Regions from separate parts of the Homo sapiens genome. Here regions 1 and 3 are each linked to region 2. The links are contacts of gene promoters, found by promoter capture Hi-C in blood cells and fetal thymus (Javierre and others, 2016). All regions are on one chromosome and are shown on one strand. Each heading gives the region's core, a stretch centred on a gene start or on the middle of the fragment in contact. The rest is flanking DNA. Distances are from core to core; before and after follow the strand shown.

What was found. Contacts are between HindIII fragments. The CHiCAGO score rates a contact against its expected background, and 5 or more counts as called.
Region 1: a contact is called between a fragment that was not itself captured here and the fragment with the promoter of ACSL3 in region 2, in 1 of 17 cell types (monocytes). The highest score is 5.4, in monocytes.
Region 3: a fragment that was not itself captured here is called in contact with the fragment with the promoter of ACSL3 in region 2 in 1 of 17 cell types (monocytes); the score reaches 6.8 in monocytes.

Annotation. Positions count from the first base shown.
Region 1 is chr2:222,301,171-222,305,200 of GRCh38, reverse strand. It overlaps CCDC140 (CCDC140 long non-coding RNA), which reads right to left. Exons shown (of 2, transcript NR_161172.1): 2 at 1-1,455. Among named protein-coding and RNA genes, the nearest start is that of PAX3, 4.2 kb to the right of the region's middle. The HindIII fragment of the contact is 3,927 bases long and covers 723-4,030 here.
Region 2 is chr2:222,858,883-222,862,564 of GRCh38, reverse strand. ACSL3 (acyl-CoA synthetase long chain family member 3) reads right to left here and starts at 1,529. Exons shown (of 17, transcript NM_004457.5): 1 at 1,307-1,529. RefSeq lists silencers at 1,034-1,403, 1,474-1,803 and an enhancer at 1,520-1,814. The HindIII fragment of the contact is 2,380 bases long and covers 1-2,098 here.
Region 3 is chr2:223,832,243-223,836,203 of GRCh38, reverse strand. All of the region lies in intron 1 of AP1S3 (adaptor related protein complex 1 subunit sigma 3), which reads left to right. Among named protein-coding and RNA genes, the nearest start is that of AP1S3, 3.4 kb to the left of the region's middle. The HindIII fragment of the contact is 4,436 bases long and covers 1-3,533 here.

The DNA.
Region 1 (4,030 bases), core at 1,437-3,936, 560 kb after region 2:
CTTTATTTATGCCCCTATTAATACAATATCCATCATGTAGATATCGATCTTTATCCTTTAAACTGATACGCTGAGAATCAATTAGCCATGCAGATTACATTTCCTACATATCCAAATGTTAGTCTCTTAGGCTGAGAGCCGGTGATAATATATTTTTGCAGCCAGATAGTATTAGATTTCGTTTAGAAAAAAAAGAAGACGAAGAAGAACAGGAAGAAAGGCTCTCTGAGGCTCCTTCCTCTTGGGGCTACTTGTCTTAACCCGGCTGAGGCTGGGGTGCCCCTCATAGAGTTTTCCGGGGCGAAGAAGCGAGACCGCGAGGATGGTGCGCGCGCAGGGCCACCGTGGGGAGCCGGGCAGCTTTCTGCAAGAGGGCTCTTGGAGGTTGGCGGGTTAGCGAGGGGTCTGCACTTCTGCCGCATGCTCCCTCCAGCTAATCAACGGGTCTCGGTGGCCCCTTTCGATGGGTTTCTGTGTCGGAGATGGTCAGTTTTCATCTTTTTAGAATTTTTCCACCTGCTTCTCCAATCTCCAAGGTTCTGGATCAAAATTATTCTCCTGTCCCTCGCTCCCAAACGTACGACTTATTTAAAGGTTCATCTCCAGAAAAAGAAACTTTATTTAAAAGAGGAAATGGGTGTTTTCTTGGGTGACGGGAGATGAAAAAGTTTAAGTTCTAGGAAGGAACTTAATGCAAGTCATGTGTAGAAATTCAGGAAGCTTAGGCCTCCTGCTTTGGTTGTGGTGAGGAGAGTTTCTCCCCTCTTCTCTCCCCCGCGTTTTACCTCCATTCTTCCCTCCTTTTATTATTTTTTAAAATTTCTTTCCTTCTTTCTCTCTTTTCTTCTCTTTCTCTCTTTCTTCTTTTTCATCTCCTCCGCCTCTTCCCCAATTTTGAAAGAGTGAGGGGTCGGGAGAGTACGTGTCCTAGGGCGGGCAGCCCTCCCGGGGTCTGTGGACTGTGCGCTCTCAGGAGACGCCCGGGTGGAGTTGGATATCTCCGAGAGGCAGGTGCGCGCAGCACTCTTCAAAACGCCTCTCTGCAGTCCCAGGTCCGCGCTCCCCAAGAACTGGCCAGATCGCGCCGGGCTTGGCCCCTGACAACTCTGCCTCCTCCACCTGTTGCGTTTACTCCGTTTAGTTGGCTGTGCAGTCTCTGGCCCCAGGTGTGCTTTTAAAACTCGAGGAACGCGGGTGTTGGACTCATTCGCAGCCTCTTGCCTCTGGTTCCCGTGATCCCACGGTGGCGAGCTTCCAGGCTCAGCGAGGAGATCTGGGTTTGAACATTCATCTCCCATGTTACTCTTTTCTTGCTCCTCGCGTCACTGGCCCCTCTTTCCTGCCGCTGAAATCCATCTCGAGGAGAAATTTTCTGAGACCCAGTTTGAGAAGCGGCTGAGGCTCACTGCGCTGGTTCAGGAGCTGGGGCCGCGTGGAGTCAGAAGGAGTCCAGTCCTGATCCGAGCGAAAGAAAGACCTGTTAGTTCCCCCTTCCCAGTACCCTCCTCCCCCAAGAGCAGGACACACAGCCCCAGCTCTTTATGTACCGGCGCCCGGAGGCAGGAGTTCCTGGAGTGGTCACTCGCCTACTTTTTTGCTCCACGAGTCAAGGAAACCAACGGACCCCAAGGTTTCTTTTATTCACTTCCTCCAGCTCTGTTCCCGCCCCCACCTCACTCACAGCCTTCACCTGCCTCCGCACAGATCAGATTTTCTGGTCTTTCCAAGGCCTAGGCTGCCCGCTCCCAATACAAGACGGTCCCCCAGCTAAATAAGGTCCTTCAACCCTTACCCCTTTCACACACACCAGATTCTTTCACACACACACATACACACACCCCGAATACACACACCCCGAATACACACACCCCGAATACACACACCAAAGAGCAGTTACCGAAGAATCTGTCTTCTAAACATCACCCCCACCCCACCATGAACTTTTACCTAATTGAGCAGAACATTTTTTGGAAGATTAGACAGGACTTACTTATTTTTTACAAGACATCCTATTCTTCCCGCCCTGGAGAATCGGGCGGCGGAATCCTGTCTTCCTTGTTTGCCTAAAAATAATTTTCTCAGACCCAAATGAACTAGGACACCAGCTGCTGTGAGATTTATTCTTCTCTCCCTCCCTCACTGCCTTTAAAAAAAAAAGTACCTCTCTCTTCTTTTCCTCTTTTCTTTTTCCTTTCCTATTTTCCTTCTCTCTTCCTATCTTCCCACAAACCATATGTTCCTTATTGTAAACCCGCTCACACGTTCCCTGGGGCTCCCCCAGCTGAAGGAGCAAACCCACTTCGGCTGGCCTACACCATGTTTCAATGGGATGTCCACATCCTCATCTAGTCCCTTAATCCGAACTCATCCCGACTGATTTTTCGATGGGGAGAAGAGCGGCGCCAATGCTTTTGACAAATAACTGCGGGGGGCCTAATGACTGTCACTGAGGCAGCGGCTGCGAAGGACCACGGGTTTAACCCGGGCATTCACCAATCCTGTATCATCACATCCGGACCGGAAGCTCATGATCACGAACCTGGCGTTTTGATGTCCTCCCCGTGAGCCCCCGGCAGCCTTTCTGTGGGATTGAGGGTTTCTCGGCGTTTGCCCAACTTTTACTGCATCCTGAGAATCACGCCTGGGGCCGGGCGGGTGGCCAGGAACTTCTCTGCTCGACCGTGTCAGCCTGCCAGAGCTCGGCCCTTCAGACGGGAGGAAAAAGGTCTGGGTGGCAGACACCACCCCCGCTCCCCACTAGGTCAGGGACATTATTTTGCATAGATCATAATTTCCTCTTAAGACCTGTGTCTGGCTGAGTATGAAGTCAACCCTCAGAGGCCCTGAGAAGTCCACGGGCCATGAAACCCTTGTGCCAGTGTCCCCAAGTGCGGAGGCTGTTCGCTAAAGGGTGCTTCACAGCCCAGGCCGGTCACCAAAGTGCGACTGGGCTGTAGACGCACGCATCCAAACGGGCTGCGAGGGAGAACTTTCAAGCTAACAAGGGCACGCTCCACTCAGGCCTGGACAGCCAGCCCGCTGTTATTTTCACCTGTAGTGTCTCTGAAACTGGGGGCAGAGGCGCAGAGGGGACAATAGAAGCTATCTCCCCCGCCCACCTTTTTTTTTTTTTTGTCAAATTATCCAAATATCGTCTTCAAGGCTCCCGTTTCATTTCGAACGTGCACAGAGCGTGAGTGGACCCTACACTCGTTCACAACACCGTTGTGGAGAGTCCCACTGATGCTTTCTGGGTAATTTGTTAGCCCAGGTAAAAGTCACTGCCTCCCAAACCAGGGTTCAAGGATGCAGGGCGCGGGCCCTCGCCTTCCAAGCCCCACCGCTGGGTCATCCCTTTACCAATTAGCGCCTGTACCGCGGCCAAATTTGGCACCAGGACTCCTTGGCCCACCGGCTGCGGATAGGGAAGTGGCCTGGACTCCCATCCAGCTGCGGGGTTTGGGTGTGGGGTGGCTTGGGCTCCGGAGAGACTTCAGAAAGAAATAAAGGGGAGGCCCAAGACTCGGAGACAGAGAAAGAGTGGCTGGAATCACCCGGCATTCCTGAGACCTGTTGCGCCCTGTTCTGCGGAGTCACGGCTCTGAGCCGGGTTAGGTTTGGCGGCGTGCGGGCGCCCTAGGCCAGGCAGCCTCAGCCAACTTTGCTGTCCTGGCCATCCCAGGTCGGACTTCGGGGACACAGGCCACAAGAAATTTAGATTCATTAAGTCTTTGGATGTGGCCCAGCTGTCCAGAGCCTAAGGGTGCCCTCCCACCCCTCTCCGGGTGTCCAGGGACCTCTGGCCACTGGCCGGTGAGAAGGGCCGGGCTGATCATCTGGGTACATATGAATCTCAGAGCGCTCGGCAGAAAAGAAAGAGGCCGGAAAGGAGAGAAAATGAGTCGCCTCCTGATTCCGGAGCTTTAGGTCCCCAGCACCCCCACATCCTTGTGGCCTCCATTTGTACATGTTTATAGCAAGTGACAGCTAGTTTATGAACCCATGGGCACTTAAGACCCAGCTCAGCCGG
Region 2 (3,682 bases), core at 280-2,779:
CTGTCCCCTATAATACCCTTCTAATACACTTTCAGGAGCAACTCATCAGCACCCTTAACTCTCAGAACTAATTTGGGGAAACAAAATAGGTTGATAAACATGAAAGAAGGTATCATCAAACTACAACTCTCCTGGCCACCCAGACTAAAATCCACTGTGGAAACTATTCAGCCAGCCACCAAGGAGAGGCAGCAAAATATAGTGCTTAGATTTCAGAGCTCTGGATTTACACAGGCCTGTCTGAATCCCAGCTTCTTACTAGCTGAGATCTGAGGCAAGCTAAGTCGTCCAATCTGCAGTTTCTCCCGCTGTAAAATGGGAATAACCCCCACCCCAGAGGACTGTTAACAGTGTGAAGACACTGTACATAAAGCTCTCCAAACAGTGCGTGGCATGTAATAAAAGCTCAATAAATGTCAGCTATTTGTCATTCTTTTCAGCTATAATTTCGTTCACAAAGCCTACTGCCTTTCTAGCTTCCATATAATTTTAAAGACATTCCTCCAGCCTTTTCATTTTCGAGGGATCTTTTATACAGCAGCTTAGAGCACACTTTCTAGTATCAGACTTCCTGCGAAAACCATTTGAAAACCTGTGCCTCGGGCTCCTCATCTGTGAAACGAGCCTGATAACACCTACCCCACAGGACTGCTGGTAGTAAGCAGTCCCCGAGTTACCCAACCTATCAACAGTATATGATTAAAACGCACTTGGGGAAAAGCAAAGCTGCAACTCTCAAACCCCAAACGACAGTCTTAATCCCAGTCCCACCACCACGATAGTGCCCAGAACCAATCACCAAGGTCGACCCACCTCACGCACCTAGTTTCTTCTCACCCCACGCAGCAACAGCCCCTCCCGCCCCGCCAAACAAGGGTTTTCCGAAATCGCAGGGCTGAGTCTCCTTCCACGGACACCGCACTGCTGGGGCCGCGGCAGAGCCCTCTTAATTCAAGGGGGTGGCCTCCCCACCCCGCCCCACAGCGCCGGGAGGCACGCAGTGCATCCTCCCTGCCTGGTCAGCGCCGCCCCACGCCGTTCGCGCTGCAGCTCCCGGCTCGCGTGGGCTCAGGGCCGAGGCCCCACGTCAGCCGCTTCCCGGACCCCAGCGGGCCGCCTCCCACCCTGCTCGCCGCTGCTCCTGGTGCCGCGGGCCGCCCGCGCGCACACCCAGCGGTCAGGTGCGGCGCCGACGACAGGGTCCCAGGCCCCGAGGCTGGGGAGCCCCTCGGGCCCAGCCGAACCGCACGCGGAGGCCGCGCCGCCAACCGGCTCCCGCCGCTCCCACAACCGGCGCCGCACTCACCGCTACGCCGGAGTCCGGGTTCCTCCGGCCTCGGGCCCGCGCAGGCCTGGCTGAGCCCCAGAGCGTTCACGCCCCGCGCCGCCGCCCGGGGATCCTGGCGCAGCTGTCGGGGCCGCAATGCGAGGGGACGAACGTATGCGACCCCGTCCAACGCCTCCTCGTCCCGGCCCCGGCCGCGTAGACAACTGCAGTGTCGCAGCCCGGCGCAGCCACAGCAGCGTCTGTTGAGCGGAACCGCCTGGGACGCTCACCCCCGGCCGGCACTCGTTGCCTATGCAGAGAGGCTGCCACCCATTGGCCCGCGAGCGGTGGCGCGTGCGGGGCTGGGCCTATCGAATTCGGGCCGGGGAGCGCGGCGCTGGCGGCCCGGGGCGGGGCGAGGTTACTACGGGTCATTCCGCGGAGCCGCCGCGGACCGGACCTGGCTGCAGTCTGCGCGGGGCGGGGGCGGGAACGGGGTCGACCAGGAGGGACGGACCGCGGGTGGGGGAGGGGAGCGGGGATCTGCGGCAGCGACGTGGGAGGAGCGGCTAGCCCAATAGGGTCTGCAGGAGCTCCGTCCCTCCAGGAAAAAACACCCCTCCACCAAAAAAAAAAAAAAAAAAATTACAGTCGCACAATTATTGCTGTAATGTATAAATTTCAATATAAATTATGAAATAGTATGCATATTCTTTTTCGTTTTTAACTGGATTAGTTATCCCGTTCTTGCAGAAATTGCTGTCAAATCCTGCCAAATAAAATGGCTTTTGGAACTGCCTGGGGCAAGAAGAGCCTCAAAAACTCAAAGCTTATCCATTATCATTTCTCTTGTTTTGGCCTCACTTGACCTAGCATATAACCCGTTTTCCTCTAAATGCACTCACCATGCAAATTTGCTATTTCTTTTCAAAAAATAAAGTTTACTCCAAATTATTGTTTTTGAACGTTCTTAGGAATCCACAGTGGTTCTGTATTTTAAGGAGTTTGCCATTGTTTCTCGTTTTAGACACTAAACAAGGATAAGAAAGAAAGCATCCAGTGCAGGTAGTAGAACTACATGTACTGTAAGAGAGAAGATTTTCACTCACCCAGTACTAGTAGGATTGGTCTCTTTTTTTAACCCAACATATTGTTTAGTTTGCCTGTGAACTTTTCCTTAAGTAGGTGAAAGGTTGCCTTCCTGAGCCAGCCTCAGGCTAAAGCAGGCCTCATTTCCCAAGAGAATCAAAATCAGGAAGCCGCCAGAACTTGAACTAGGTGGAGCGATGATGCACCAAGCAAAGAGAGCTCACTCACCGTGGGCCAAGGGCCAATCGAGAACCTAAAGGGATGGATACCTGACTCAGGCAAACTGTTCTCCCACTTCAAAATATGGCAGTTCAGTTGCTCATTAATCTGTTGAAATCTTATCAAAGGATACATCCTGAAGATAAATGGAATGCAGAATTTCTTATCTGAAAAGACATTCGCAGCTCTGCAGAGAGAAGCAGGCTTTAGAAGTAGTACTTCTAGAACCATGAAATCCTCTGGAAAATACTGGTTTTTTTCCGAGAGAAGAAAACTAATATTGCACCTTTTTATCTATCCATAAGCCTAAAACAGACTAGAAGAATTCCAACAATATCTTTCTTCATTATCTTTATATTATGGAATATATATTATGGATATGGACCTATATTTAAAAGAAAATGGTCCTGGGAATTAAAATTCTAAATTCTCATCTTGTTTGCTGTTTAACAAGCTAAGTAGAAATACATAGAGATACTTCAGAGACATTGTGGGTTTGGTTCCAGACCACTGACACTTAAAGGGAATATCAAAATTAAGTGAGTCACATGAATTGTTTGGTTTCCCAGTAAATATAAAAGTTATGTTCGCCGGGAGCGGTGGCTCACGCCTGTAATCCCAGCACTTTAGGAAGCCAAGGCAGGCGGATCACCTGAGGTCAGGAGTTCGAGACCAGCCTGACCAATATGATGAAACCCTGTCTCTACTAAAAATACAAAAATTAGCCAGGCGTGGTGGCATGCGCCTGTAATCCCAACTACTCGGGAGGCTGAGACAGGAGATCGCTTGAACCTGGGAGGCGAAGGTTGCAGTGAGCCGAGATCGTGCCATTGCACTCCAGCCTGGGCAACAAGAGTGAACTGCATCTCAAAAAAAAAAAAAAAGTTATGTTCATACTATAAAGCGTGCAATAGCATTATATTTAACAAAACAATGTACATATCTTAATTTAAAAATACTTTATTGCAAAAAAAATGCTGGCAATCACCTGAGTCTTCAGCAAGTTGTAATCTTTTTTGCTGGAGGAGGGTCTCACCTCAGGGTTGATGGCTGCTAACTGATCAAGGTGATGGTTGCTGAAGGTGGGGATGGCTGTAACAATTCCTT
Region 3 (3,961 bases), core at 66-2,565, 970 kb before region 2:
AGGGAAGTGACCTGCACCCTGTGGGCCCACCGGAGGCAGGAGTGGGTGGGCCACGTGGGCTAAGAAAGTTGATCAACAAAGAGAGCCGGGGAGTGCTGAGCACCTGGCCAGCAAGACCGCAGTTGCTGGTTTCTGTTAAAGGTTTGGCTGCACACACTAGCGGCATCATTTTTGTCTGTTGAGGGTTCCTTGTAAATACAGCGTGATGCAAAAACAATGCTGTAAATAATGGAGCAGGTTTCTTGGCTTGCTCAAGTTTCCCAAGGAACAAGGTGACAGATGCCCAGTCCACCAGTGTAATTTGCCTAACAGAGGCTGGAATAAGGCCCTGCGTTTCTGAGTCATCAAAGGCTGCTTTTGTGCTGAGGAATGGGCCAAGGTTTGGTCTATAAGGAAAAGCTGCTCCTCTGGACAATACCTGTGGTGGAGTTTTATTTTTTCTTGCTGGTGTCATATGTGTGATGAGTTGATCAGAAATGTGGGAAGTTTCTCCAGCTTTTCTACCAGTTTTTGCTAAATGGGAAACATTATTATTATTTTTTTTTCTTCGAGACGGAATCTTGCTCTGTCACCCAGGCTGAAGTGCAGTGGCATGATCTTGGCTCACTGCAACCTCCATCTCCCGAGTTCAAGCAATTCTCCTGCCTCAGCCTCCTAAGTAGCTGGGATTACAGGCGCCCGCCACCACGCCTAGCTAATTTTTGTATTTTTAGTAGAGACGGGGTTTTGCCATGTTGGCCAGGCTGGTCTCAAACTCCTGACCTCGTGATCCACCTGCATCGGCCTCCCAAAGTGCTGGCATTACAGGCATGAGCCACCGCACCTGGCGGGGAAACATTAATGTTATTGGGCATTTGTGATAAGACAAGCAGGATGTCCTGCTCTTTATATTCACGATCTCATTCAATCCTTGCAACAAACAATTGAGGTTAAATCTGTTATGCTCATTGCATTTTAGCTACTCTGAGCTATTCTAGCAGTATGGCCTTGGACAATTCCTTGACCTCTCTGTCTCAGTTTGCCCATTTGAAAAATGGAGATAATATCTCCTAACTCATAAGGCAGAGGTTCTGAAAGTGTGACCTGGGTACCCCCAGCAGTCCCCAAGACTTTTACTGGAGGTCTGCAAGGTCAAAACTATTTTCATAATAATACTAAGATATTAATTTTCCCATTTCATTCTCATTCTCACAAGACTACAGTGAAGTTTTCTTGTGTCTACATAAGCTGAGATAGTACAACAGATTGAACACAGATGCAGATAGGAAAGTCCAACTGTCTTTGATAAGCCCAGACATTAAGGAGATTTGCAAAATTGTAAAACAGTGCCATGCTTTTCACTAATTTTTTTTTTGCTTTGGAAAAATATTGTTATTGGTCATAAAAATGTTATTTATGTTTAATGTGTAATAGGTTTACTATTGTTTTTTCTTTTTATTTATTTATTTTTGAGACAGGGTCTCTGTGTCGCCCAAGCTGAGTGCAGTGGTGTGATCACAGCTCACAGCAGCCTCAACCTCCTAGGCTCCAGCAACCCTCCTACCTCAGCTTCTTGAGTAGCTGGGACTGTAGGCATGTCCCACCATGCCCAGCTATTTATTTATTTATTTATTTTGAGACAAGGCTTGTTCTATCACCCAGAGTAGAGTGCAGTAGCATGAACATGGCTTACTGCAGCCTCAACCCAGTGGACTCAAGGCATCCTCCTACCTCAGCCTTCCATGTAGCTGGGACCACAGGTGTGTGCCATCATGCCCAGGTAATTTTTTGATTTTTGTATAAATGAGGTCTTACTTTGTTGCCTAGGCTGGTCTTGAACTCCTGAACTCATGTAATATTCCCACCTTGTCCTCCCAAAGTGCTGAGATTATAGGCATGAACAATTGGGCCCAGTGGAATTTTTTACTTTTTGTAGAAATGAAGCCTACCTATGTTGCCCAAGTCGTATTATTTTAAAATATGTTAATATCTATTTTTTCATTTTAATTTCAAATACAATAAATATCAGTGGATATAACCCACATAAACAAAAAGGTCTTTGGGATTGGCAGGCGGATCACCTGAAGTCAGGAATTTGAGACCAGCCTGATCAACATGGAGAAACACTGTCTCTACTAAAAATACAAAATTAGCTGGGTGTGGTGGCGCATGCCTATAATCCCAGCTACTTGGGAGGCTGAGGCAGGAGAATCGCTTGAACCCGTGAGGTGGAGGTTGTGGTGAGCCAAGATCGTGCCATTGCACTCCAGCCTGGGCAACAAGAACAAAACTCCATCTCAAATAAATAAATAAATAAATAAATAAATAAATAAATAAATAAAAAGAGTGTAAAGGCATCCAAAAAGTTTCATAATCACTGTCCCGGAGTTTAACAGGTACCATAAGTGAATGCGTGTGAAGGCGCTTCAAACAGCTTTGCCATTGTAAATGCTCAGTAACCATCACCTCTCCTCTGTTATTACCTTCAAGTTGTAAGAAAGAATTGGCGGCCCTCGCTAGTGCCCAGCTGCTCTGAGACCTTTGTTGAGGCTCACTGTGTAACTCCCTGTCTTTCCTGCTGCTTCATTCCTGACTTTTGCTGACTTTTATGCTAGGAAACTGGTAGATGCTTACTGGCAGATCTAGGCACCTAGTACTTTACACACAGAAAATGGTTCTTGATTCCATGGTGCCAGTGACCCTGGTTTCTGGCACAGAGATTTCATATCTGGTGCATGTTGGGACTGTGTTTGTATCTGGATCACACTGTTTGAAGCAACTGTGTACTCCATCTCACCTTTTAGAAATCTCTACCTTGGAAAACAGTGTTAGGGCTATTGCACTTCAGGAATCCCACGAGCTGAGCCCAGTGTGTTTAAAAAGGCTTATGGGGCAGAATGTACTGTTGAATGGTTGGCAATGAAGGAGGATTATGTTGTTTATGTATGTATGTATGTATGTATGTATGTATGTATGTATGTATTTTGCCTTTAACAAGATAGCTGTGGGGATGTATACAGTGACATTTGAAATGCTTTGGGGGTACTTTTAATAAAAGCACAAGTGGACTTTGATGTATGTAGTCCATGTGCTTCTGAAAAGTTGAGGTGACACAAAACCACATTGTGAACAAAACAGTAGAGCCACCCATTGAAAGAAACTCAAATGTTGATCCCTTTGGAAACATGAATAACCGTCTTTTTGTGTTGCAAATTCCGTTCTCATAATGTATGTTATTTATGTAAAGTAGGATAGATTTATGCTAAAAAAAAATCAAGGATTTTTTTTGGGTGTACGATTTAAAATCTGACTTGAGAGAATTTACCAAACAGAACTGGAAAGCCATTTCTTATTCAGAAGATATTTAAGTTTGAAATAGTAGGAGTACACCCTTCTCCTAAAAAAAAAAAAAAAAAAGAAAAAAGAAAAAAAATTCCTTTGTTCATTTTAATCTCAGGGAGTTGTTGAGGGTGAGGGTGGAAAAACCGAACTATGAACCTGTAGGTCCTGCCACGCCCCCTTCCCCTTCTGTATCAATTTTATGTTCTGAAGCTTGAATGAATTGTAATAAGCATGTAATGATTTTGGCAATTTAAGTTCCAGTTTGAGGGTGAAGCGGTCTATTACACTAATGAGTGCTTTCCTCCTCGGAGACTTGGTCTAGGCTGCTGGCCAGCAGTTAGTGTAAGATCGAGGGCTTTGGGATCAGGGGAGAAATGACCCTTTGTGGTGTTCAGTTGTCCCAAGAGGGCTCTCCTCCACTGGCCCTTCCCACAGGTCTCCCAAAAACACCAGTGAGACTTGTATTTACTCCTCACCAGGATTGTTACTACCGAGTTTCTATCACTCGTTTTGTTTGTTTGTTTGTTTGTGGTGAGTATTGTCAGCTGCTGATAACTTTTGTGTGGCATTTTGCCAACAACAGCTGTAAGGAAGCAGCACACTGTGTATTTGCTGAACGGTGTTGTCAATGTCTGCCCTT